Regions from separate parts of the Homo sapiens genome. Here region 2 is linked to region 1. Evidence: promoter capture Hi-C in human tissues and cell types (Jung and others, 2019). All regions are on one chromosome and are shown on one strand. Each heading gives the region's core, a stretch centred on a gene start or on the middle of the fragment in contact. The rest is flanking DNA. Distances are from core to core; before and after follow the strand shown.

The links. Contacts are between HindIII fragments. The study calls those that stand out against the background at their distance.
Region 2: a contact is called between a fragment that was not itself captured here and the fragment with the promoter of WWC3 in region 1, in 1 of the 25 tissues and cell types used here (hippocampus).

The regions. Positions count from the first base shown.
Region 1 is chrX:10,012,723-10,020,362 of GRCh38, reverse strand. WWC3 (WWC family member 3) reads right to left here and starts at 5,109. Exons shown (of 24, transcript NM_015691.5): 1 at 4,690-5,109; 2 at 4,505-4,687. The coding sequence starts at 4,784. RefSeq lists silencers at 5,137-5,196, 5,237-5,406 and enhancers at 5,227-6,110, 6,111-6,994. The HindIII fragment of the contact is 13,767 bases long and covers 1-7,640 here.
Region 2 is chrX:10,144,226-10,151,771 of GRCh38, reverse strand. WWC3 (WWC family member 3) reads right to left here. Exons shown (of 24, transcript NM_015691.5): 24 at 7,298-7,546. Among named protein-coding and RNA genes, the nearest start is that of CLCN4, 9.0 kb to the left of the region's middle. The HindIII fragment of the contact is 6,586 bases long and covers 240-6,825 here.

The sequences.
Region 1 (7,640 bases), core at 3,860-6,359:
TAAAAAATAAATAAATGAATAAATAAATAAACAAATAAATGGAAGGAAAGGAAAAGACCAAAAAATGTTAGACCAAAAAATGAGGATTGATGATCTAAATGGAAGCAAGAGCCGCTTCTTCCAGGGACTGACCCCTTACAGCCTTAAAAACAAGATGCTCCCCCATGTTCATACAAACACTATCTATAACCTTAAAAAAAGAAAAAGGGAGAAATCATTACCTGTTTATCAGAAAGCTCAACCAGGACAGTTTATATAGTCCAAAAATAGACTCTGTGGGATGAATATAGTAAACCTCCTATTAGTTAATACTGAATAACTAAATAAAGGTTCCAAGAAGGTAGCAATGATGTTATTTGGCTGTTAAATGGGGATCCAACCTAGCAAATTCCAGAGCTATGGATTGTTTTCCTCTTAAAGCAAAAGCATCTTCAGAAGACTTTTAAGATACCACAGAATTCCTCCATGAAGCACAGGTCAAATCCCATCTGGTGAACAAATGGGTCCCCAAAAGCTTATGCCATGACATGATCTTGCTCTTCCGCCATCCGCATGATTATTTATACTTTGATCTCAAATATGGTATCGTCCACCATACTTAAGCTGCCCAGAGCTGGCATTTCCAGTACCGTACAACTCCACCTGAGCTACAGGAAATGGAACATGAGGTTTCAAACACTCAGTCCATCTATAGGATAATACCCAAATAACCCTGCAAGACACACACGTAAACACAACTGTCAAAGACAGTGAATCTTTACAAAGGGGGCAAAAATGTTCTTCCCATATTTTCTGCCCAATGGTAAATACCTTTTCATAAGGTGGTCAAGTTATTCTGAGTTAATATATTCAGTTAAGATATTAGTGTGCCACTAATGTAAACCACACAAGACTCATGTAAGGAAACTACCAGCCATAGAAATAAGTTAACTTTGTAGTTTGTTTTTTCGTTTCTTTTTTTTTTTGGTGTGGGGTTTTGTTTCGTTTTTTGAGACAAGGTCTCACTCTGTCACCCAGGCTGGAGTGCAGTGGCATGACCACGGCTCACTGCAGCCTGGATCTCCCCAGCTCAAGCAATCCTCCCATTTCAGCCTCCTGAGTAGCTGGGACTATAGGCGCACGCTACCCCGCCCACGTAATTATTTTATTTGTTTGTAGAGACAGAGTCTCCCTATGTTGCCCAGGTTCGTCTCGAACTCCTGGACTCAAGCAATCTTGCCCCCTGGGCCTCCCAAAGTGCTGGGATTACAGGCATGAACCACCACGCCTGGCCTAACTTTGTAGTTTTTAACCAAGTTCTTGGGTATGATTCCCAGTAAACTAACTATGAAAATTATATGTACAGTATCAATCTATAGAAATAGTGAATTTAAAGTGAAGGTAGGTTTTTTCGTTTGTTTTTTGAGACAGAGTCTCTCTCTGTCACCCAGGCTGAAGTGCAGTGGCGCGATCTCGGCTCACTGCAACCTCCACCTCCAGGGTTCAAGTGATTCTGCTGCCTCAGCCTCCCAAGTAGCTAAGACTACAGGCGCACACCACTACGTCCGGCTAATTTTTGTGTTTTTAGTAGAGACAGGGTTTCACCACGTTGGCCAGGCTGGTCTTGAACTGACCTCAAGTGATCCACCCACCTCAGCCTCCCAAAGTGCTGGGATTACAGGCATGAGCAACCACGCCCAGCCAACCAAAGGTAGGCTTATAATCAAACTAAAAAATTGTTTTTAAAATATTGAGATTGTGTATACATCTGTAGCCACATCCGTAAAGACGTCTCCTTGTATCTTCTTTGTTGTAACTTTAAAAAGCAGTTACAATAATTTCACCAACAGGCTCTGAGCCGGCACTATCAAATGTTAAACACAACACTGAATGGAATTACTATAAAACTCAAGAAGAGATTTTGTTTACAATCCTTGGACCATATTTTATGCTATACAGTTTTTACTAAAGTTTATATGAAATTATGTTTAAAGTCAACAACAATTTTCACTTAACCTACTACATTCATTTATTCCACCACAATTTCATTTTCTTAAAGAGAAAAAAAAAGCTATTATGTATTTGCCTTTCTCCTGTCAGGTCTCTATGTGGAAGCTGTTTGGTGAAAGTCCTCGTATTTCTTGAATACCATTTTCCTGTGTGACTCAAAAGCAACTCAAAAAGGGTTTTAACTGTCAGATGCGCATGGAGAAAACACTGCCCTCTGACATGCAGTTCTTCCCATATAATAAAAGTTAATTACAACTTTAAAGGGTAACCCGCCACCTATAAAACTCGGCCAGGTTCTGTTTTGAAAGAGGAAGAAGAATGACTATTACAGCCTTCAGCCGACTCCACTTAAATGTTTGTGGCTTGCTGAACATTCCATACATATTTCGGGCAAGGTATTATGGGAGCTGAAGTTCAAGCTGTCCCCTGCTGAATTTTCACTCACTATAAAAACAACGTCTCATAAAAGTACACACGTTTTTACTTTACAAAAAAAAGGTAAAATATCCACTTTTGTTGACTCAATTGACAATTTTAGCATCAGAACGGAGACTTTTTAAAAACCTTTAAGTGATTGTCTGAAAAGTAACAAATCGATTTCTGGAAAAAAGGAATATAGGAAATGTGTCTGAAATACATGGAAAACAAGATTCTCCAAGCTGATTTCTGTATGGTCCATTCACGTTTGTCACAGGTTACACCATTAAAAAGAAAATCCTCACATTGATATCTTTCAGCATGAATCTCCACTCCAATATAACCACAACTGTTTTATATTACCCTTGGAAAGTGAGCCTTAGCCTTTTCTAAGCAAAACACTATTTTAATTGGTTCATTTTCCAGTTGTTTGGGTTTTTAACATACATATGGTATAAAAGGGCACTGCATTCCAAGCAGTTCTACCAATTCCAGAACCATCCAAGGGTTGATCAAACAGCTGGGGCTCTAGCCTTTGGTTAAAATTATAACATGATCTCACCTGATTTTCAAAATAACTAGGCATCTTTTTAACCCATAAAATTGTACTAGGATTGATATAGGTTTCTGAGCCCAGAGGTTTGCAATGTTCAGCGAGAATGTTAGGGAATCACGATCTTTTTGTTTTGCTTTCTTTTGTTTTCCCCTGCTTGAACTCAGAGAAATCTTCAAACAATTCAGCAGCTTCTCTCCTCAAAAGTTTATTTTCAGACGCCAGTGCCATGCAGGCCGCCTTCCCTGTGCAGGTAGGAGGAAGCAGGCACAATGTCACCACACTGGGCCTTTGCAAGTCTTCAAATCACTGGGAAGCCTGTGGTGTTTCCTTTTTGGCACTCAGGCCCTGGAAGGAGAGTTGCTCTAGAGAGGACAAGACATCAGATAACCTGTGGAAACACTTGATGTCCACAGAAATCCCAATTCCACACAAAATACATCTCTGTAAAAGCAGTTGAACAATCGAAACCCGTAGACAATCGAGCAAAAAGTTAAGGAAGAGCTTCGTTACATGGAATTAATTAAATGAAATCTGATAGTGCTTTTACAAGAATCAGTTTTTACTTGATTGGGTTTTTATACGTGAATAAGACAGCTTTGTACCCCATGCATATCTTTCACAAAAAGGAAACTTAAAATACAATTCTTGTTTTTCGTTTATTCCAAAAGCATATGGGACTAATCATATTGCATTCTGGCTGCAGTACAGAAGGCTATTTCAAACAGTTTTAACTCACGAGTTTTAAGGCGCTAAAGAGCAACTAGAGTTTGGGAACAGACTTCTCCAACTCCAAAAGGGTTGGGAATCCCTCAAGGGCCCGTCTGACATCAGGTTTTGGATGGAAACCAGCCTGAACCCGCCAGACAGGGAACCCGCACCCCAAAGCTGGGGCGCACGTTTGTGATCCAAGGTGACAGCTCATCTCGCCACCGCGGGGCTGGGGACACCTGCAGAACCAGGGCCGGGGCAGTGGGCCGCAGACGCCCGGGACCGGGATGGGCGAGGCTGCCGCAGAGAAAGGAAAAGAGGGCCATCTGTCAGCCCCAGGAGAGGAAATTCCAGGAGCCCAGTTCCCAGGCGCCGGACAGCGGGTGACGTGAGGGAACCGAATGAGAGGGTCCGCCCAGCGGCGGGGGACCTGTAGGCGGCCGGCCTCGGCGCTCAGAGGGCTCGAGGCCTGGAGAAGGGGCACCTCCATTCTTGGTCAGAGCCCTGGGAGTCGGGGTATTGGGAGGGTGGATCCTCTCCCGGACCCCCGGAACCAAAGATCTTCACCCAGCCCCGAGGGCCTCCTGGTGTCTCCGATCCTCTCCCTGGGCCCAAGGGATGGGGGCGCCTCGATCGTAGCCTGGACCGGAGCACTCCAGGGAGTCCCCTGGTTCCGGGGATGGAGGCGCTCCGAGCTCTGCCCGGGCCCGGGGGCTCTCGGCGGCGGCCCCGCGCTGGGCGGGGCGTGTCCCCAGCGCATCCGCGGTGGCGCCGGCCGGCGGCCCGGGTCGTAGCGCCCGCGCCGGGTCTGGCGCCCCCAGCCGGCCCGCTTACCGGTCGCGGGGGTCGATCCACGACGTCTGGCGCGTGTTGTGGTCAATGTAAAAGACGCGACCGTCGTAGTCTCGCGCCTCCTCCCAGCCGGCGGGCAGCGGCAGCTCGGCGCTCTCCCGGGCCCGCGGCGGCGGCGCGGAAGGAGCTGGGGGCGTGGGGACCGCGGCGGGGGGCGCCGGCGGCGCGGTTCCCGCTGGGGCTGCGCAGAAGGCGGCGGCTCCCGCGGGGCCTCGCGCGGCTGTCCCCGCCGTCGCCGCCGGCCGCCGCTCAGCCAAGGCATGACGGCGCGGGCCCCGCCGCCGCCCGGCCGCCCCGCGCGCGCCGCCTCCTCCGCCAGCACTAAGGCCCGGCGCCCGGGGCGCGGGGGCGGCCGCGGGGAGCCGCCCGCCGCTCCTGGCGCATCCTCCGCCCGGCGCCCGTGCACCGGCGTCCGCCCGCCCGCCCTAGCAAGCCGCTGCCCGCGCCGCCCACTCCGTTCAGGTAGCCCGGGTGGCCGCCGCGCGCGAAGTCACAGCCCGGGAGCCGCCGCCGCCGCCGCCGCCGCTGCCGGCCGCCCCTCCGTTCCCGCGGCGCGCCCGGCCATCTTCGTTCCTCGGCGCGGCCCGGGCGAGCAGGGGCAGGGCGTTCGCAGGCCCCGCCTCCGGCCGTCCCGCCCCGTTCTCACCCAGGCCCCGCGGCTCCTCCCACGCCGGCGGCTCCACCCACGCCGGCTGCTCCTCCCGAATCTCCCACGGAGGCTCCCGCTCCTCCCGCCGCCTCTGCTTTTCCACCCACTCCCGCTGCTCCGCCTCCCCCGGCCCCGCGTCCTCCGCGCCTCTCCGTCGCCGGCTGCTCCGCCCCCAGTCTCCCTCGGGGTCCTCCTCGGCGCTCGGCTCCTCGACCCCACCCCCACCCCTCCGCTTGCTCCTCCCCCTCCGCCGTCCTCCCTCTCCGCGCGCTCCTCGCTCTCTCCCTCCCGCTCCGCCACCTTCCTCCGGCCTCGGGAAACCGCATGGAGGCCAGGATGGGCGCCGCCGCGTCAGTCCGCCCCCGGGCCCCCGCGTAGAGGAAGGCGGGCGGGGAGGACGACGCCCTACCCGGACTGCGGGCGCGGCCTGCCTGGGGTGACTCCTCGGGCGCAAACAATTCCCGAGAGAGCGGGCAGTGCCCTCCCTTCACCCGCTCCCGGGCTCTGGCTGTCTGGAGACCCTCTGCGCACTTGGCGGGAGGCTGCGCCCTCGGTCTCCCACACAACCCGTCTGGTCCCGCGAAGGTGGGAAAAGCCCCTGAAGGCGGGGCCGAGGGAGCTGAGGAGCTGGGGGAGCCCGCGGCCGGTCCTCTCGGGCGGCGCAGGGAGGACGCCTCTGGAAGCGGGCAGCTGGGCAGGTGGCCACTTTGCGTCCCCGCCAGGACAGCCCTAGAAGGGCTAACCTGGGGGCCCACACTAGGCGGGAGTTCCTTGACCTTCCCTGAGCGCTTCATCCGGTTTGTGGGGTCTGATCGTTTGAGCGGAGACCCAAGTAGACCATTGCTGGGGAGGAAGCCGGGTCAACTCCTAAAACTTTCAGCCTAGACGGGAACTTCTGTTTCACTGGCTCCCAGCTGGGGAAGCTGAAGCTCCAGAGTTGGGGCTGTGTCTTGCTCTAAATCTCCCACCTACTTCGTGCCCCAGACCCACAGCCGCAACACGTTATGCCAGGAAATGCAGGACAGTATCAGGGAGATTTTTAAACAGTTACAGTGATACAAAAATATCTGGTAGAGCCTGATTGAAATCCAGATACACAGGGGAAGAGACTGGAGGAAAATGTCCTGAAATGCTCACAAGAGTTTGCATTCCTTTGGCGGGATTTTTAAAAATGATTTGCCTTCCAATTTTTTGTAAAATGGTAATATTACTTTTATGAGGGGAAAGGTTGTTTTAAAAAAGAAGAATGGGCCGGGCGCGGTGGCTCACGCTTGTAATCCTAGCACTTTGGGAGGCCCAGGCGGGCGGATCACGAGGTCAGGAGTTCGAGACGAGCCTGGCCAGCATGGTGAAATCCCCGTCTCTACTAAAAATACAAAAATTAGCCGGGCATGGTGGCGCACGCCTGTAATCCCAGCTACTCGGGAGGCTGAGGCAGGAGAACTGCTTGAACCTGGGAGGTTGCAGTGAGCTGAGATCGCGCCACTGCACTCCAGCCTGGACGACAGAGTGAGACTCCATCTCAACAACAACAAAAAAAAAATTAGAAGAATGTGGGGCCGGGCTCGGTGGCTCACACCTTTAATCCCAACACTTTGGGAGGCTGAGGTGGGAGGATCACTTGAGCCAGGGAGGTCGAGGCTGCAGTGAGCCGTGTTTGCACGATTGCACTCCAGGCTGGGCGATGGAACAGAGACCCTGTCTCAAAAAAAAAAAAAAAAAAAAAAAAAGAAGAAGAAGAAGAAGAAGAATGTGAAGTTGTGAAGGTATAGCGACGTCCAAAAAACTATCCAAGGAAGGTCTTTCCTCTCCCTCCTCCTACTACAACACAGAAACTTTCTTGCTCCCCAAGTATCTATCTACCCCTACCTGAATGTTCTATGTGAGAAATTCCACCGCATGAGTCCTTTTAAACATGTGTGATTATTACATGTCCAAGGGAAAGAGTGGGAGGGTCAAAAAAGCACATATTTTGTGATGTCGCATGTGCCAGGGAATGCCCCAAGTGCTGAGTGTCCCTGCTCTGACATCTTCCCTTCCGATTGGCATGATTTATCGCCAGTGGGGCTGCCACTGCCTTCTTACCTTACCACCCAACATGGCCGTTCTGAAGCTGCATTTCCACCCTCCCTGTCACCTGGTCCTTTTAGAATCTCACAAATCTGGACACAAATCTATCACTCGAAAGTACTTTGAATGGGGCTGGGGCGTATTGGAGTGAAACCGACTTCTGCAGAGAGAGAGTGGAAAGAGGAGAACACATACACCACACATCAAAGGACTCAGAAGGAAAGGCAAGATGAAAAAAGCATCAGGTAGAGCAAGGAGTGGGGGAAACTGCATCCAATTAGGAGCTCAAAGAGGCCAGCGCCGAGGAGTCTTCACTGAAGGTGAAAGATTTCTACCCGTTCAGGCGGGCAGCAAATAGTGGACCTCCCACGCGCAGACACTGTGCTGCGTGTAGGCATG
Region 2 (7,546 bases), core at 2,283-4,782, 130 kb before region 1:
AGCCACTAGACACAGTTACTATTTACATGAAAATGAATTTAACTTAAAAGTTCCAATTCAGTCCCTCAGTCACACTAGCCACATGTCAGATGCTCAAGAGCTACATGTGGCTTGTCACTACGGTATTTTAGCGCAGATATAAAACAATTCCATCATTGCAGATAATTCTATTGGATGATGCAGTAAAATATTTCTTTTAAACGAACTCCATTGCAATAAAACAATTTGTGTTTATTACTCATGGGATTCTGCCTGTAATTGCAGGGTAGAAACAGCAATCTGGCCAGAGCGTCTGTTAGTGGGAACAATGGAAAGGCACAGATTCCAGAAGGCCGTGTGCCTCTAGCCACAGGTCTCAGACAAGATGCTTCCAAATGCCACTGAATGTGCAGCCTCTGCCGTTGGACTTCACCAGGAGCCTGGGAATCTTCTAAGAGGGGAGCGTCTGATCACTTGTTCCAAAGCAAAACTTGAGATGCATGCCGGAGTACATACATACTGAATACAGGAACCGGCCCTTCAAAGCTCAGTGCTTCTAGGGTGGGCTGGAGAATGACCTCCCCAAAGATGTTCACCCCCTTATTCCCAGGACCTGTGAAGATGTTGCTTTACGTGACAAAAGAGATTTTGCAGATGTGATTAGATTAGGGATCCTAAGATCGTGGGGAGATGATCCTGGGTGGCCCCAGTGGGCCCAGTGTCGTCACAAGGATCATTATAAAAGGGAGGCAGGAGGGTCAGAGTCAGAGAAGATTGGCAATGGAAGCAGAGATCAGAGAGGGAGATTTGAAGCTGCTACACTGCTGGCCTTGAAGATGGAGGATAGGGCCATAAGCGAACAAATGCAAGTGGCCTCTAGAAGCTGGAAGAGGCCAGGAAACAGAATCTCTCCACTAGCCTATGGAAGGAACACAGCCCTGCTGGCACTTGATTTTAGCCCATTCACACCCAGTTTAGACTTCTACCCTCCAGAAAAGGAAAAGGATGAATATGTGTTGTTTTAAGCCGCTAAGTACAGCAGCCATTGGAAACGAACAGAGCCTTGGCTCATTGATTCATCCGATTCCTATTTACGGAGCCCTCCGTCTGCACCAGGCAGAATGCAAGGCCCGAGGGTCAGCCACGCTCGGGAGTGACTGTGTCCCTCTGCTGAGTCCCTCTTACAGTCCATGGGGAAGACAGTCATGAAACAGGTCTTCCCAATCAAGAGTGGGGAATCCCTGATGAGAGAAGTGTTGAGTGATGTGGAAAAATACCGCTAGGGGTTGAATTATGTACTCCCAAATTCATATGTTGAAGTCTCAACTCCCCAGTACCTCAGAATGTGACTATATTTGGAGATAAGTTCTTTAAAGAAGTGGTTATGTTTTCACATCAGGCCGCTAGGGTGGGGCCCTAGTCCCATCTGACTGGTGTCCCTATGAAAAAAAAAAAAGGAGACCCCAGGGTCATGCATGCAGAGTGATGACCACGTGAGGAGGCAGCAAGCTGAGGGGAGAGGCCTCGGGAAACCAGCCTGCCAGTGCCTTCATCTTGAACTTCCAGCCTCCAGTGAGAAAATCAATGTCTGTTGTCGAAGCCACCCAGTCTGTGGGACTTGGTTACGGCAGGCCTAGCGAACTCATACACGTACATAAAGCAGAGGGGCCAAATTTCTTCAGGGATGGAGACCACTTCCGGCCTCCTTGAGAAAGTCATGGTTAAGCTATCCAAGGACAAGTGGGAGTTAGCTCAAGTTGGGGACTGTGGAAGAGTGGACCAGAGAGAAGACAGGGAGTGCCCATAGGTAGCCAGGAGGGAAAGGCCTTCTTTCTGCTACAGCAACTGCAACAAGTAAAATTTGGCCACAGTAGCATTGCTCAAAGTTATTTTTGCCTTTTGTTTGTTTGTTTGTTTTTGAGACAGAGTTTCACTCTGTTGCCCAAGCTGCAGTGCAGTGGCATGATTTCAGCTCACTGCAACCTCCATCTCCAGGGTTCAAGTGATTCTCCTGCCTCAGCCTCCCAGGTGGCTGGGATTACAGGCGCCCACCACCACGCCCGGCTACATTTTTGTATTTTAATGGAGACAGGGTTTCACCATGTTGGTCAGGCTGGTCTCAAACTCCCGATCTCAGGTGATCCACCTGCCTTGGCCTCCCAAACTGCTGGGATTACAGGTGTTAGCCACCATTCCCAGGCTAAAAGGTTTTTTGTTTGTTTGTTTTGAGACATCCAGAGTAATGAGTGTCTTTTGTATGCGAAAGAGATGATGGTAGCTGAGGGCCCTAGGTAGCCTCAGGATAGGGGCTGGTCACCAGTCACCAGAAAGACCAAGGCAAGATAACAGATTGGGGACTTTTAACCCCACCTCCTTGACCTCCGGGGAGGGGAGAGGGGCTGAAGCTTGAGTTTATCACCAGTGGTCAATGATGTAATCAATCATGCCTATGCAATGGAACCTCCATAAAAACCAAACACCACATGTTCTCACTCATAGGTGGGAATTTAACAATGAGAACACATGGACACAGGGTGGGGAACATCACACTCCGGGGACTGTTGTGGGGTCGGGGGAGGGGGGAGAGATAGCATTAGGAGATATACCTAATGTAAATGACGAGTTAACGGGTGCAGCACACCAACATGGCACATGTATACATATGTAACAAACCTGCACATTGTGCACATGTACCCTAGAACTTAAAGTATAATAAAAACAAAACTTCAGTAACAAACAAACAAACAAAAGCCCACAAAAGGACAGGGTTTTCCGTGGGCTTCCAGATAGCTGAATACACAGAGGTTCCTGGAGGGTGGTGCCTAGGGAAGGGCATGGAAGCTCCGTGCCTTGCCTTCCATACCTTCCACATCGCTTCCATCAGGCTGTACATCTGTATCTTTGGTAATATCCTTTATAACAAATGGCTAAACATGTTTCCCTGAGTTGTGGGACCACTCTAGCATGTCAGTGAACTTGAGGAGGGGGTCATGGGAACCCCCATTGTATAGCCAGTCGGTCAGAACCACAAGCCACAACCTGTGCTTTTCATTTTTGTTTTTTGAGACAGATTCTCACTGTGTCACCCAGGCTGGAGTACAGTGGTGCAGTCTCGGCTCACTGCAACCTCCGCCTACCGGGTTCAAGTGATTCTTCTGCCTCAGCCTCCCGAGTAGCTGGGACTGCAGGCGTATGCCACCATGCCCAGCTAATTTTTGTATTTTTAGTAGAGATGGGGTTTCACTGTGTTGGCCAGGCTGGTCTCGAACTCCTGACCTCGTGATCTGCCCACCTCGGCCTCCCAAAGTGCTGGGATTACAGGCGTGAGCCACCGCCCCGGCCACTTTTTTTCTTCAAGACAGGGTCTCACTCTGTCACCCAGGCTGGAGTGCAATGGCATGAACACGGCTCACTGCAGCCTTGACCTCTGGGGCTCAAGCTCAGCCTCCTGTGTAGCTGGGACCACAGGCACATGCCACCATGCCCAGCTAACTTTTTGTATTTTTTTTGTAGAAACGGGGTCTCGCTATGTTGCCCATGCTGGTCTTGAACTCCTGGGCTCAAGCGGTCCTCCCACCTCAGCTTCTCAAAATGCTGGGATACAGGCATGAGACACCACACTCGGCCTCAACATCTTATTTAATGGGGAAACACTAGTTTTTCCACCAAAGTCTGAAAAAAGGTAAATAGCCTTGCATGTATGTGTATTTATCTTATTGTTATTTTCTGTCTTTATGCAGACAAAGACAGAAAACAAAATAGACAAAAACTCATGAAGAAATATCCAAAATACATACGAGTAAAACTATAAAGCATTCCTGAAAGGCACAAAATTAGTCTTGGACAAATGGAAATACACTCTTGGATAAGAGGATTCAACATCATAAAGATTGCGGTTCTCCCAAATTTGTACGTTTAATGCAATTCCAGTAGATTCATAATTTTTTTTCCCTGGAGCTAGACAAGATAATTATAAAATTCATTTGAAAGAACAAATAAGCAAGAATATCCAGGGAAGCCCTGAGAAAGAAGAAAGGAAGGAGGGCTAGCCCTAACTGATATTAAAACTTACCAACAAGCCTCTATAATTAAAGCAGCTTTGCTCATAAGCACAAATTTTGATTGTGCTGAGATGCTTTCTCACCTCTGCAACTGGCAAAGACTCACAAATGTGACACCATTCTATTGCTGAGGTTGTGAGGGAACTGTCTCATACATTGCTGGTGAGAATACAAAATGGCAAAGTCCCCGTGAGAAAAATGCAGCAACACCCAGCAACATGCCGCATGCATTACTGTTGACCCAGAGATCCCACTTCTTGGGATGTATCTCACGAAAACCCTGGCAAAGGCCGGGCAGGGTGGCTCACACCTGAAATCCCAACACTTTGGGAGATCGAGGCAGGAGGATAGCTTGAGACCAGGAGTTGGAGACCAGCATGGGCAACACGGCAATACCGTTTCTATCAATAAAATAAAAAAAGAAACCCTGGCAAAAATGTGAAAAGATGTCTGCAGAAGACTTTCATTGTTGAATTATTATTTTTTGAGACGGAGTCTCGCTCTGTCGCCCAGGCTGGAGTGCAATGGCACGATCTCGGCTCACTGCCACCTCTGCCCCCCAGGTTCAACCGATTCTCCTGCCTCAGCCTCCTGAGTAGCTGGGATTACAGGTGCACGCCACCATGCCCAGCTAATTTTTGTATTTTTAGTAGAGATGGGGTTTTACCATGTTGGTCAGGCTGGTCTCAAACTCCTGATCTCATGATCTGCCCACCTGGGCCTCCCAAAGTGCTGGGATTACAGGCATGAGCCACCGCGCCCGGCCTGTTCAATTATTTTTAATAGTATGACTAGAAACAACCAGAAGATGGTTGAATAAACAATGGTACATCCACTAATGTTGTGTGCAAAGGTAAAATGAAAAGAACACTTACACATACCTTTGGGGGATATGGGGATGGGGTGAATGTATTTTGCTTGTGGGTTGGATGTGAATTTGGAGGGGGGGGATGCAGAGGACAGATCATAGTGGATTGAATGGTGGGCCTAAAGATATGTCTACCTGGAACTTGGGAACGTGACCTTATTTGCAAAGAGTCTTTGCGGAGGTAATTAAAGACCTGGAGATGCGATCATCCTGGATTAACCGGGTAGGCCCTAAATCCAATGGCAGATGTTCTTGTAATAGAGAGAAGACAGGGAGAAACGCAGAGAGAACGGTGATGTCACGATGGGGCCAAGACTGGAGTCATGTTTCTTGCACAAGCCAAGGATTGTCAGCAGCAGCAAGAGCCGGAAGAGGCGGGAAGGATCCTCCCCTAGGGCCTTTGAAGAGAGTGTAGCCCTGGTGACACTTTGATTTAGCACTTTTGGCCTTGAGAACCGTGAAATAAATTTTTGTTAAGCTACCAAGCTTGTGGTAAATTGTTATAGCAGCCAATACAGACTTTGGTGGTCTCTGGGATATATCTATTTTTCTTTTTTTAAAGAAATGCAGTCTCACTACATCGTCCAGGCTACTCTTGAACTGCTGGTGTCAAAGGATCCTCCCACCTCAGCCTCCCAAGTAGCTGGGACTACAGGTGTGCACCACCACCATTGGCTGGGATATACTTTTAAGTGAAAAAAGCCAGGTGAAGAAAAGTATGTTTTTATGCTACCATTTGCCCAAGGAGAGAAAAATACAAATATAGATGTGTTCATATTTGTGTAGTCATGTGTATATGTGTAAATGCACACATGTATATATTTGTATGTACACACTTACATATTTATATACCTGCTTATATTTTAAAATAACAATGCAAGGAAAAACAGTAATCTCTTTTCAATGGTTACCTGTAAGGAGAGGGGAAAAAATAGGGTAGAGGCAAGAATAAAAATCTGACTCTGTGGGGCGTGGTGGCTCACGCCTGTAATCCCAGCACTTTGGGAGGCCAAGGCAGGCAGATCACTTGAGGTCAGGAGTTTGAGACCAGCCTGGCCAACATGGTAAAACTCTGTCTCTACCAAAAACACAAAAATTAGCTGAGCATGGTGGCACACACCTGTAATCCCATCTACTCCAGAGGCTGAGGCAGGAGAATCACTTGAACCCGGGAGGCGGAGGCTGCAGTGAGTTGAGACCGCGCCACTGCACTGCAGGCTAGACAACAGAGCAAGACTCCATCTCAAAAAAAAGCCAGACATAACTACAATGAGATACCACTTGGCATCCCCTAAGATAGCTATAAGCAAAAGGACATAACAAGTGTTGGCCAGGATGTGGAGCAACTGCCGGTAGGAATGGGAAATGGCACAGCTGCTTTGGAAACAGTCTGGCAAGTCCTCAAAGAGTTAAATATGGAGTTACCATGTAACCCAGTGATTCCACTTTTAGGTATTGACCTAAGAGAAATGAAAACATATATCCACAGAAAAGCTTAAATGTAAAAGTCCATAGCAGCATTATCCATAATGGCCAAAAAGTGGAAGCAAAGTGTCCATCAACTGATAAATGAAGAAAATGTGGCCTGTCCATGCAATGGAAGATGATTCAGCCATAAAAAAGAATGAAGTCTCAACACACACTACAACACGGATGAATCTTGAAAGCATTATGCTAAGTGAATGAACCCAGACACAAAGGCCACATGTTATGTCATTGATATGAAATGTTCAGAACGGGCAAATGTGTAGAGACAGAGAGGTCAGTGGTAGCTGGGGTCTCAGAGGATTGGGGAGCAACTGCTAATGAGTCTGAAGGCTTTTTTGGGGGGTGATGAAAACGTTCTAAAAATTGTGATATTTGCACGACTCTGAATATACTAAAACCACTGAATTATACATATTAAATGGGTGAATTGTATAGCATGTGAATTATGTATCAAGAAAAGCTATTACCAAAAAAGAAAAACACAGACAAAAAAAATCCCAATAAGTGAATCATGTTTAGATTCTGTTCAAAGAGTTAAAGAATGACACAAGATAAATGGGAGAGAAAACCTTGGCTATTTGGTAACAGTAAGGAATTATTAAATGCTAAGATGTGATAAGGTTATTATGTTTTTCTCTTTTAGCAATACATATTGAAATATTTAAAGATGAAATGATAAGCTATATGGGCTTTGCTTCAAATTCTAAGAGGAGGAGGTGGGCTGGAGGGTAAAGGAGAGGGCAGCCGTGAATGATCGTGTTGAAGCTGGGTGAGCGCTGCGTTCAGCTATTTTCTCTGATTTTATACCTCTGTTTTTATGCTTGAAAAACACACATTTTTATATATTTAAGCTTCCATAATTAAACATTCTTTTTCCATAAAGCCACACATTTCCACTCTGTTCTTAAGGCAGGTTAGTTTAATTTTATAGAAGAAATATTTTTCAAACAGTACAAATGACACAATTAGAGAGAAAAGAGTGACAAAAAACAAAGAGATGAATACTGATTATAACTTATTCCCACAACAGAAGGCTACTTATTTCTACAATTATCAATCAAAGCCTGACAATTCAGTGATTAGATGAAGTGAAAGCCAAATTCCCTTTTACATGTGGTACTATTTCAAAAGAACCCTGGTGGCAGGATCC